2 separate regions of the Homo sapiens genome follow, and region 2 is linked to region 1. The links are contacts of gene promoters, found by promoter capture Hi-C in human tissues and cell types (Jung and others, 2019). All regions are on one chromosome and are shown on one strand. The core of a region is centred on a gene start or on the middle of the fragment in contact, and the rest is flanking DNA. Distances in the headings are between cores, read along the strand shown.

Evidence for each region. Contacts are between HindIII fragments. The study calls those that stand out against the background at their distance.
Region 2: a contact is called between a fragment that was not itself captured here and the fragment with the promoter of CAP1 in region 1, in 1 of the 25 tissues and cell types used here (dorsolateral prefrontal cortex).

Annotation. Positions count from the first base shown.
Region 1 is chr1:40,039,102-40,043,135 of GRCh38, reverse strand. CAP1 (cyclase associated actin cytoskeleton regulatory protein 1) reads right to left here and starts at 2,407. Exons shown (of 13, transcript NM_006367.4): 1 at 2,335-2,407. LOC105378669 (a long non-coding RNA gene) reads left to right here and starts at 2,690. Exons shown (of 3, transcript XR_001738013.3): 1 at 2,690-4,034. RefSeq lists enhancers at 2,108-2,197, 2,268-2,467, 2,121-2,755, 2,718-2,787, 2,756-3,389. The HindIII fragment of the contact is 19,514 bases long and covers 1-4,034 here.
Region 2 is chr1:39,732,559-39,736,452 of GRCh38, reverse strand. No RefSeq gene overlaps it. Among named protein-coding and RNA genes, the nearest start is that of PPIE, 4.4 kb to the left of the region's middle. The HindIII fragment of the contact is 4,491 bases long and covers 1-3,593 here.

The DNA.
Region 1 (4,034 bases), core at 1,158-3,657:
CCAGGCCCCAGTATCACTGAACAATTTAGGCCCTCTCCTGCCTCCGTATCTTTACTCTTGCTCTTTCCTTTAGCTGACCCACCTTATTAGACATCTTTGCCTGGATGTGCTACAAACACCTCAAACTAAAAACATTCAAAATGCATTTTTTCCCATGTCACTTCCCTAATTTACCTCTCATACTCTCTATCTGAATGGTACTACCCATTCAGTTCCCTAAGCCAGAAAGCCAGGCAATCGCGCTATTCTTACCTCTTCATTCCCATAATCAGCCTCCAATTCTATGGATTCTATCTTCTTAATATTGCTCACATCTGATGCCTCCTCTCCATTCCCATTTCCACTGTCTTAGTTCAGGCCATGTCTACAGCAAGAGCTTCCAAACACTGTTTTACTTCCCCACAGGGCTGGTCCCCTCCTACTTGACAGAATGAACTTTCTGAAATATAAATCTGACGACATCATTTTCCTGCATAAAACCCTTCAAAGCATCTCCATAGCTTTCAGGGTAAAAATCCAAATTCCTTAGCATGACTTACAATGTCCTCCACATATGACTGACCTGACCACATCTCACTTCCTCCACTTCCCCAGCCATTACTAGAATTCCAGTCACACTGAACTCGTCATGGTCTTTCAGCTGTCCGGTTCTCCAGGTCCTTGCACCTGTAGTAGTCTCTGCCTGGAAATCCCTTTTCCGGATTCCCTATGTAGCTAAATAAATATTTCAAGAGTTAGCCTCCCATTTCCTCCTGGAACCCTGGGCACCTGGCTCAGGTATTTCTCCACTGTGCTCTTGTAGCCCTGTGCTATGCACTATGACACTGTAAGCCATCCCTCATTTACTTGTCTATTTCCTCTCCCACTGTAAACTCCAGAAGAACTGTATTCTTTGCCACAAAGGCTATCTCATTAAAATGTGCCTCATACATATTAAGGTCTTAATAAACGTCTGGTGGGGCCGGGCACGGTGGATCATGCCCGTAATCCCAGCACTTTGGGAGGCCGAGGTGGGGGGATCACCTGAGGTTAGGAGTTCGAGAGCAGCCTGGCCTTCACGGCGAAACCCCATCTCTACTAAAAATACAAATAAATAAATTAAATAAAAGTCTGGTAAATGATAAATGTGCTGATATGCCCCCGGATTTTCTCTTGAAGAGAGAGCCCCACAAAGAGCTTCAACTGACACAGTTCTGATGCTAACCTGTCTCAAATGTTCTCATTCCACTCTTCGAACGCATTCCTATTTATCCTTCAAAATTCATCTTAAAAACTCTGCTTCTTCAGAAGGGCTTTTCCTGAACCCCCTGTTACATACTTTCAGAGCACCCTGTTCTTTCCTAACACTCATCAACATTTATAATTACTTCTTAAACATCCCTGCAAACACTGCTAGCTCCACGCGGGCAGGGTCTACATTGTTTTGTTTTAAAGCTGCATTCCCCGCATCTGGGAAAATGCTGGCACAGAATAAACACAATTTGTTACGCTGAATTTAATCTTGTGGGGTCAGCAGAGATCTCCACTTAAAAGATGAACAAAAGGAGGCTGAAAGAAGTTTAAGGCACCTATGGCCACAGACACTCAGCACTGAGGCCAGACCAAACCTGAGCCGTCTGATTTCAGGTCCAGAAGTACATACCTTCAATGTTAGCCTGGCTTGTCAAAGTAAGAGCAGCAGCCGAGGAGGAAAGGGAGGATATCTGCCTGTAAATACAAGGATGTGCCCGCCTTTCTTTTAAAAACTCCCTAGGCATTTCAAACGGCTCAATTTGGGAGGAGAGAAAAAAAAAAGTTCCACGCAGCGCTGGCCTTTAACCTGCAGCAGCCTGCGGGGCAACACCGACCGGAAGACCATCCCAAGTTAGAGAGGTTCCGAGCAACACGGGAAGAACTGGGGCTGGTTATCTAAGGCACCAGGATCATGATTCCGATTCTTTTCCTCACTCGCTATATATCTCAGACTAGCCTCTTCTCTAGGGATCAATTTACCTATCAGTGCAATGGGAGCATCAACAGGAGACAGGGAAGACTCTCCGATCTCGGAGGTTCCTTCCAGTCAGAGCACCTCAGGAATCAGGCCTCCGCTGAAGCTGATGGGCAGCGCTGCGAAATCGGGCAGAGGGGCCTCCCCGGGGCACCCGGACTCAGCTGCTCACCCCGGCCCCACCTCAAGAGACCGCGCCCAAGAGTCCGGGTCGGCCTGAGGGCCTCAGCCCCGGCCCTCTCGGCAGGGTTCATGACACGCGCGTAGGCCAGAAGGGCCATTAACACCACCAGGGGCCGATGGGCCCCGGAAGGGACCCCAATCCCTACCAAGCTGCACACCCTCACCTCAGAGTTCCGCCTCACCTCCGGACTGCGATCAGCCGCTCTCCGCTTCCGGCAAGAACCGCCCAGCAATCTCCGCGCGACCCACTTCCGGGCCCTCACTGGGCGCGGCGCCCCCACCGGAAATGAGCCGCCGGCTGAAGCGCTAGGCTGGCCCGCGACTGGGCAGGAAGTCTCACCGCCCCGCTCGTGACTCCGCCCCTCTTCGCCACGCCCCGGAGAGAGCGGCCCGGCTCTCACAGAGGGCACTTGGGAAAGAGCCCCGCCCTCAAGGCGGGAGCGACACGGGGAGGGCGGGCTCACAAGAGAGGCCACGCCCTCGTTCCGCTTTACCTACCCGGAATCGCCCCCGAGGCCCGGGCCCAGGAAGGGCAGAAGTCCCTGGCTAAGCTCCTCTCTGGAAAGAACAGAAGAGTGACCAGTTCCTCTGTCAGTTTGGTCTCAATGGCAGAGGCCGGTTCCTTTAAGCTGCAGTCCGTAAAGGGTCTTGGAACGACTGGGGGCCAGGATTCTCTGAGGGCGGGAATCCGGGCGGCCGTCAGCTCTCGGTGGTGATCGAGGCCACGCTCCGCCTGTCTCTGGGCGTGCATACCTCGGTTTCCCCGTTTGTGACGTGGGAAGGCAATTAGTCTGGACATTGTTGTGGGAGGACTTGCGGAGACTGGGCGCAGGGCGTGGGGGTCAGTGAGGGCGCGGTGGGTCAGCCCCAGCCCGGCTGGCAGTCGCGGGGCTGGGAAGGTAGGGAACCCTCCGCTCTCACCCCACTTCCTGTTTGGTCGGTGTGTTCTGTGACCATAGATGGTCAAGTCTGGGGCCGCGCGGAAGCCTCCGCCCTGTGGTTTTGGAGCCCTTCCTCCCGGCGCGCAGGGTGTGGTCCCCGAGAATAAGATGAGCAGAATTAAAGCAGATCCTGCACCCACTCTGCTGAAATCCGGCTTCTGAGGCAGCCTCGCCCAGGGCTGGGTGGGCTCAGGCGGCTGCTACTCGGTTCAGGGGAGGTTACGCACGGTGGCTGCCGCGCGCAGGGGAGGCTTCGCTTCCGTACTCCTTGGGCCGGGAGATCCGATCTTTGTTCCCTCAAGACTCACACTCTCCAACCGGTCATTATCCTCCCACAAAGATTTATTTCTAGAAAAAATTGGCAAGTGCCACAGTTCCCGCCCCTTCAGCTGAACGACTGTGACAGCTCCGTGTTTCAAGTTGAATGCAGGCGTTATGTGCCAGAGTCAATCATTCAACAAATAAAGTTCTTAAAATAACAGCTACCATTTACTGCACGCTGACTACTTGCCAGGCCCATGCTGAGTTCTTCAAGCGTATTTTCATTTACTCCTAATAGCAACTCTCGGTGGTAGGTACCATTATGCCCTCTAGTTTTCAAATGAGGAAGCTGAATAACTTGCCAAGGTCAGAAAGTAACTGTTGAAACTTTGAAGGAAACACATCTGTCTGACTCTAAATCCCATGAGCTTAATTAGCCCCTGTGATAGACCATACTGCAGACATTTGAGGCAGATTTGAGGTGGTGAATGCCTCTGGATCTGGAGACACTGGGTTCCAGTGCTGGCATAGGCCCTCTACTAGGGGTCAGACTTTGGTCAGGTTACTTTGGACGGGTTACTGGGCCTCTTCCTAACTTTATGGCTCCCAGCATGTTTAAAAGAACATGACAACATGAAAAAATATGGTATAAAAGTCATAGT
Region 2 (3,894 bases), core at 99-2,598, 310 kb after region 1:
ATAGTCAGGTATGTCTCTCTCTCCCAGTAGATGAAGGTATTTGACACCACGGCCTGTACCCATTGTATTCCCAGAGCTAAGCAGTGGCTGCGCACACAGCTGACCTTACCAACCTCATGCCAAACCAGGGAGTTGATACTTATAGGAATGAGGCTGTGAGATCTGATTAGGAGAGCTCTTTGTGTACCCGTCACTATTCCAAAACAAAAGGTCACTCTCAGGAAGAATCTGACCAGGCGTCCTTTATGTGGTGTGGTATAATAAAAAATAGATACTTGGTCTTTGTCCTAGTTCCTGGCACAGAGCTTCTAAAATCATTGGAATATCCTGAGTGCTGTGTCTTTTGTTATTCATAATGAGCCCATTTTGACCCTACCTAAGTTTGTGCTAAGCAGATGACTCAAGGTAGAACCCCTAGCTCGCTTCAGGATGGGGGTTGGTCATCAGAGAAACCAACCATGTGATTAGAGGGTTGGGACTTCCAGCTCCCGCCTCCAACCTCTGAGGAGAGGAGGGGGTTGGAAATTGGGTTCAATCACCAACACCCAGTGGTTTAATCAGCCATGCCTAGGTAATGAAACCTCATATAAACACTCTAAATGCGGTTTGGGGAGTTTCCAGGTTGGTGAATACATTGATGTGCTTGGAACACAGCATGCCTAGAGAGGGCATGGAAGCTCACCAGCCCCTCTCCATTCCCACCTTGCCCTGTGCATCTCTTCCTACAATCTTTACAGCCAAGTTTGAATGCATTGTTTGGATAAGGAGGAACAAATGTCTCCTGTGGGGAAGATAGTTCATAAAAAACCAAACGGAATCTCAGTAACCTTGGTGTCTGCGTCAGCACCAGCTTCTGGCCCTCTCTTCTTTCGTAGGCGCGTGGGTCACTCACTCAGCACCTGCTTCTGTTCTTGGGAAAGTGCTGCCGCCAGCATGGAGGCAGTCAGGGGTTCCTGGCCTGCACATGGACAGCAGGCTGGGGTGCCTGGGAACCAGGAGAAGCAGTGGGTTAGCACCCAAGGAAAGGACAGCACTCGATGGTGGTCAAAGTTAGGACACTCCAACCACTCGACACCTGAATGCTACCATTCAGAATCCAGGCGAAGGGGAGAAGTAATGGTTTTTGACCAAATTCAGCGCATTTTGAGGGGAGTGGTGGTGATATAAAACTGTATAGATTCTCCATCGCGCTCAGTGCCTCACGCCTGTAATTCCAGCACTTTGGAAGACGGAGGCGGGTGAATTTCTTGAGCTCAGGAGTGTGAGACCAGCCTGGCCAATATGGCAAAACCCTGCCTCTACTAAAAACACAAAAATTAGCCAGGTGTGGTGGTGTCTGTCTGTAGCTTCAGCTACTCAGGAGGCTGAGGCAGGAGAATCACTTTAACTCAGGAGGCGGAGGTTGCAGTGAGCCGAAATTGTACCACCGCACTCCAGTCTGGGTGGCAGAGTGAAATTCTGACTCAAAAAACTAACTATGAAGCTGAGTGTGGTGGCTCACACCTATAATCCAAGCAATTTGGGAGGCCGAGGTGGGCGGATTGCCTGGGGTCAGGAGTTCAAGACCAGCCTGGCCAACATGGTGAACCTCTGTCTCTACTAAAAACACGAAAATTAGCTGGACGTGGTGGTGTGCACGTGTAGTCCCAGCTACTCGGGAGGCTGGGGCGGGAGAATCACTTGAACTCGGGAGCCAGAGGTTGCAGTAAGCCAAGATGGCACTACTGCACTCCAGCCTGGGTGATAGAGTAAGACTCCATCTCAAAAAAACATCCAAACAAACAGAAAAACTGCATAGATTCTCATCATATGTATAATAACATGCAACATAATTAGAAAGGGAAGGTGAAAAGAGCCCATCCAGAGCACACCTACTCTTCGTTGAGCCTAGTGCTAGGGAGATATTTCCACAGACATTTAGTTGTCACAAACTTGAGATAGAGATTATCTCCCCATTTTACCCAGGCCACCCAGGGAGGTCAAGCAATTTACTCACATTAGCAAAGTAATAACTGAGTATTTAATTTGTTGATTGAATATATAAAGCTCCAGTAACTATCTTTAGCAGTACAGCTTTTTTCTAAGGACCACATTATCCCCTTTGGAGGGATGCCCAGAAGTGACTGGATCAAAAGGTGTAAATACCAAAACAGTTATAATTATTATATGCCATAATGCCTCTTTCATTAAATGCTCTAGAAACATTAGCATATGATGTCAGTGATGAGCTCCAGTCTAGAAGTAGGTCCCTGAAGGCAGCAGAAAGGCTTCGTATCTTTTCATGTGGCATTAAGGTTTGGAAATCGCTTTAGAAAGCTTTAAGTAGGTGAAATGAATAGGAGTGTGGGAAGCATCATTCTCCTGTATTTCTGAGGGGAGCATTTAGACATCATAGTCACACTTAGCACAATTTGTATTTGCATTTTCTTTTTATTTTTTTGAGACAGAGTCTCACTCTGTTACCCAGGCTGGAGTGCAGTGGTGTGATCACGGCTCACAGCAGCAGCCTCAAGCCTCAACCTCCTGGACTCAACCTCCTGCCTCAGCCTCCCGAGTAGCTGGGACTACTGACTAGCGTGCACCATCACACCTGGCTAATTTTTCTATTTTTTTGTAGAGATGGGGTTTTGCCACATTGCCCAGGCTGGTCTCAAACTCCCGGGCTCAAGCGATCCTCCCACCTCAGCCTCCCAGAGTGCTGGGATTACAGGCATAGCATAAGCCACAGTGCCTGGCTGCATTTACATTTTTTAAAATATTCAAAACTAGAGGACGCATTTACTTTTTAAAACCCCTTCTCTCCAACCAGAGAAAGAGCATTTTGAAAGTGGGACCATGTCAGTTTGCTTACCACTGTAATCCCATACCACTGCACAATTCCTTGGTATTTAGTAGACTTTTAATACCTGATGAATGAAATACAGAAAACCTTCTTGCAAATAAAGTTGAAATGGAAAATTCTATTCTTAGCACATTGGGTGCCTGGGCTCCACTACAGAGGCTGAATCACAGGCCGTGGGCTGCCAACATCGGAGGTGTATTTATACAGAGCAACAGCACAAGGAGGAGCAGTGAGCGTGAGTGTGGTGGCACAGGTGCTACATGCCGCACAGCTGCAGGATTCCCAAAGAAAAGAACAAACCCAGTTCAAGTTCGTCACTCTTAGCAACCGCAGTCTCCAAGAGTCTTCCTGGATTCTTAACTGAGTCAGTGTTTGTATCATGGAGACTGTTTGAGGGACTAGAAGCTAAAACATTCTATCTGCCACTCAGTGACACTTTTCTTCGCTGATAGCAGGAGGGACAGATGTCCAAGTCTGCCAAAATCTAGGGCTGTTTTTCTGCCTTACACCACAACTTCATAGGGCTGCATTTACCAGTGCCCTAAACTCTAGTGTCTTAGGTCTGGCAGGTTCCATATTCTAAGATAGTGGTCCTAAAATATGAAACTGCATCAGAATCATTGGAGGGCTTGTTACAACACAGGTTGCTAAGCGCTACTTCCAGGGTTGCTGATTCAGTCAGTCTTGAGTGAAGCCAAGAATGCTCGCTTCTAACAAGTTCCCAGGTGATGTGGAAACAGCTGGTCTGGGGACTATACTTTAAGAACCACTTTTTCCAAGAAAGGAATGACATGTTAAAAGGCAGTAGAAGCAGCCCATTCTGGGTGCAAACAATACGGAGGTGTGTTGTCTGGACAGAATTTTAAAACACTAATAAAACAACTAAAAGGTCAGTCACTTTTGACTGGGCACGGGGGCTCACGCCTGTAATCCCAGCACTTTGGAAGCCGAGGCAGGTGGATCACTTGAGCTCAGAAGTTCAAGACCAGCCTGGGCAAGGTTGAAAATCCTGTTTCTACAAAAAATACAAAAAAATTAGCTTGGCATGGTGG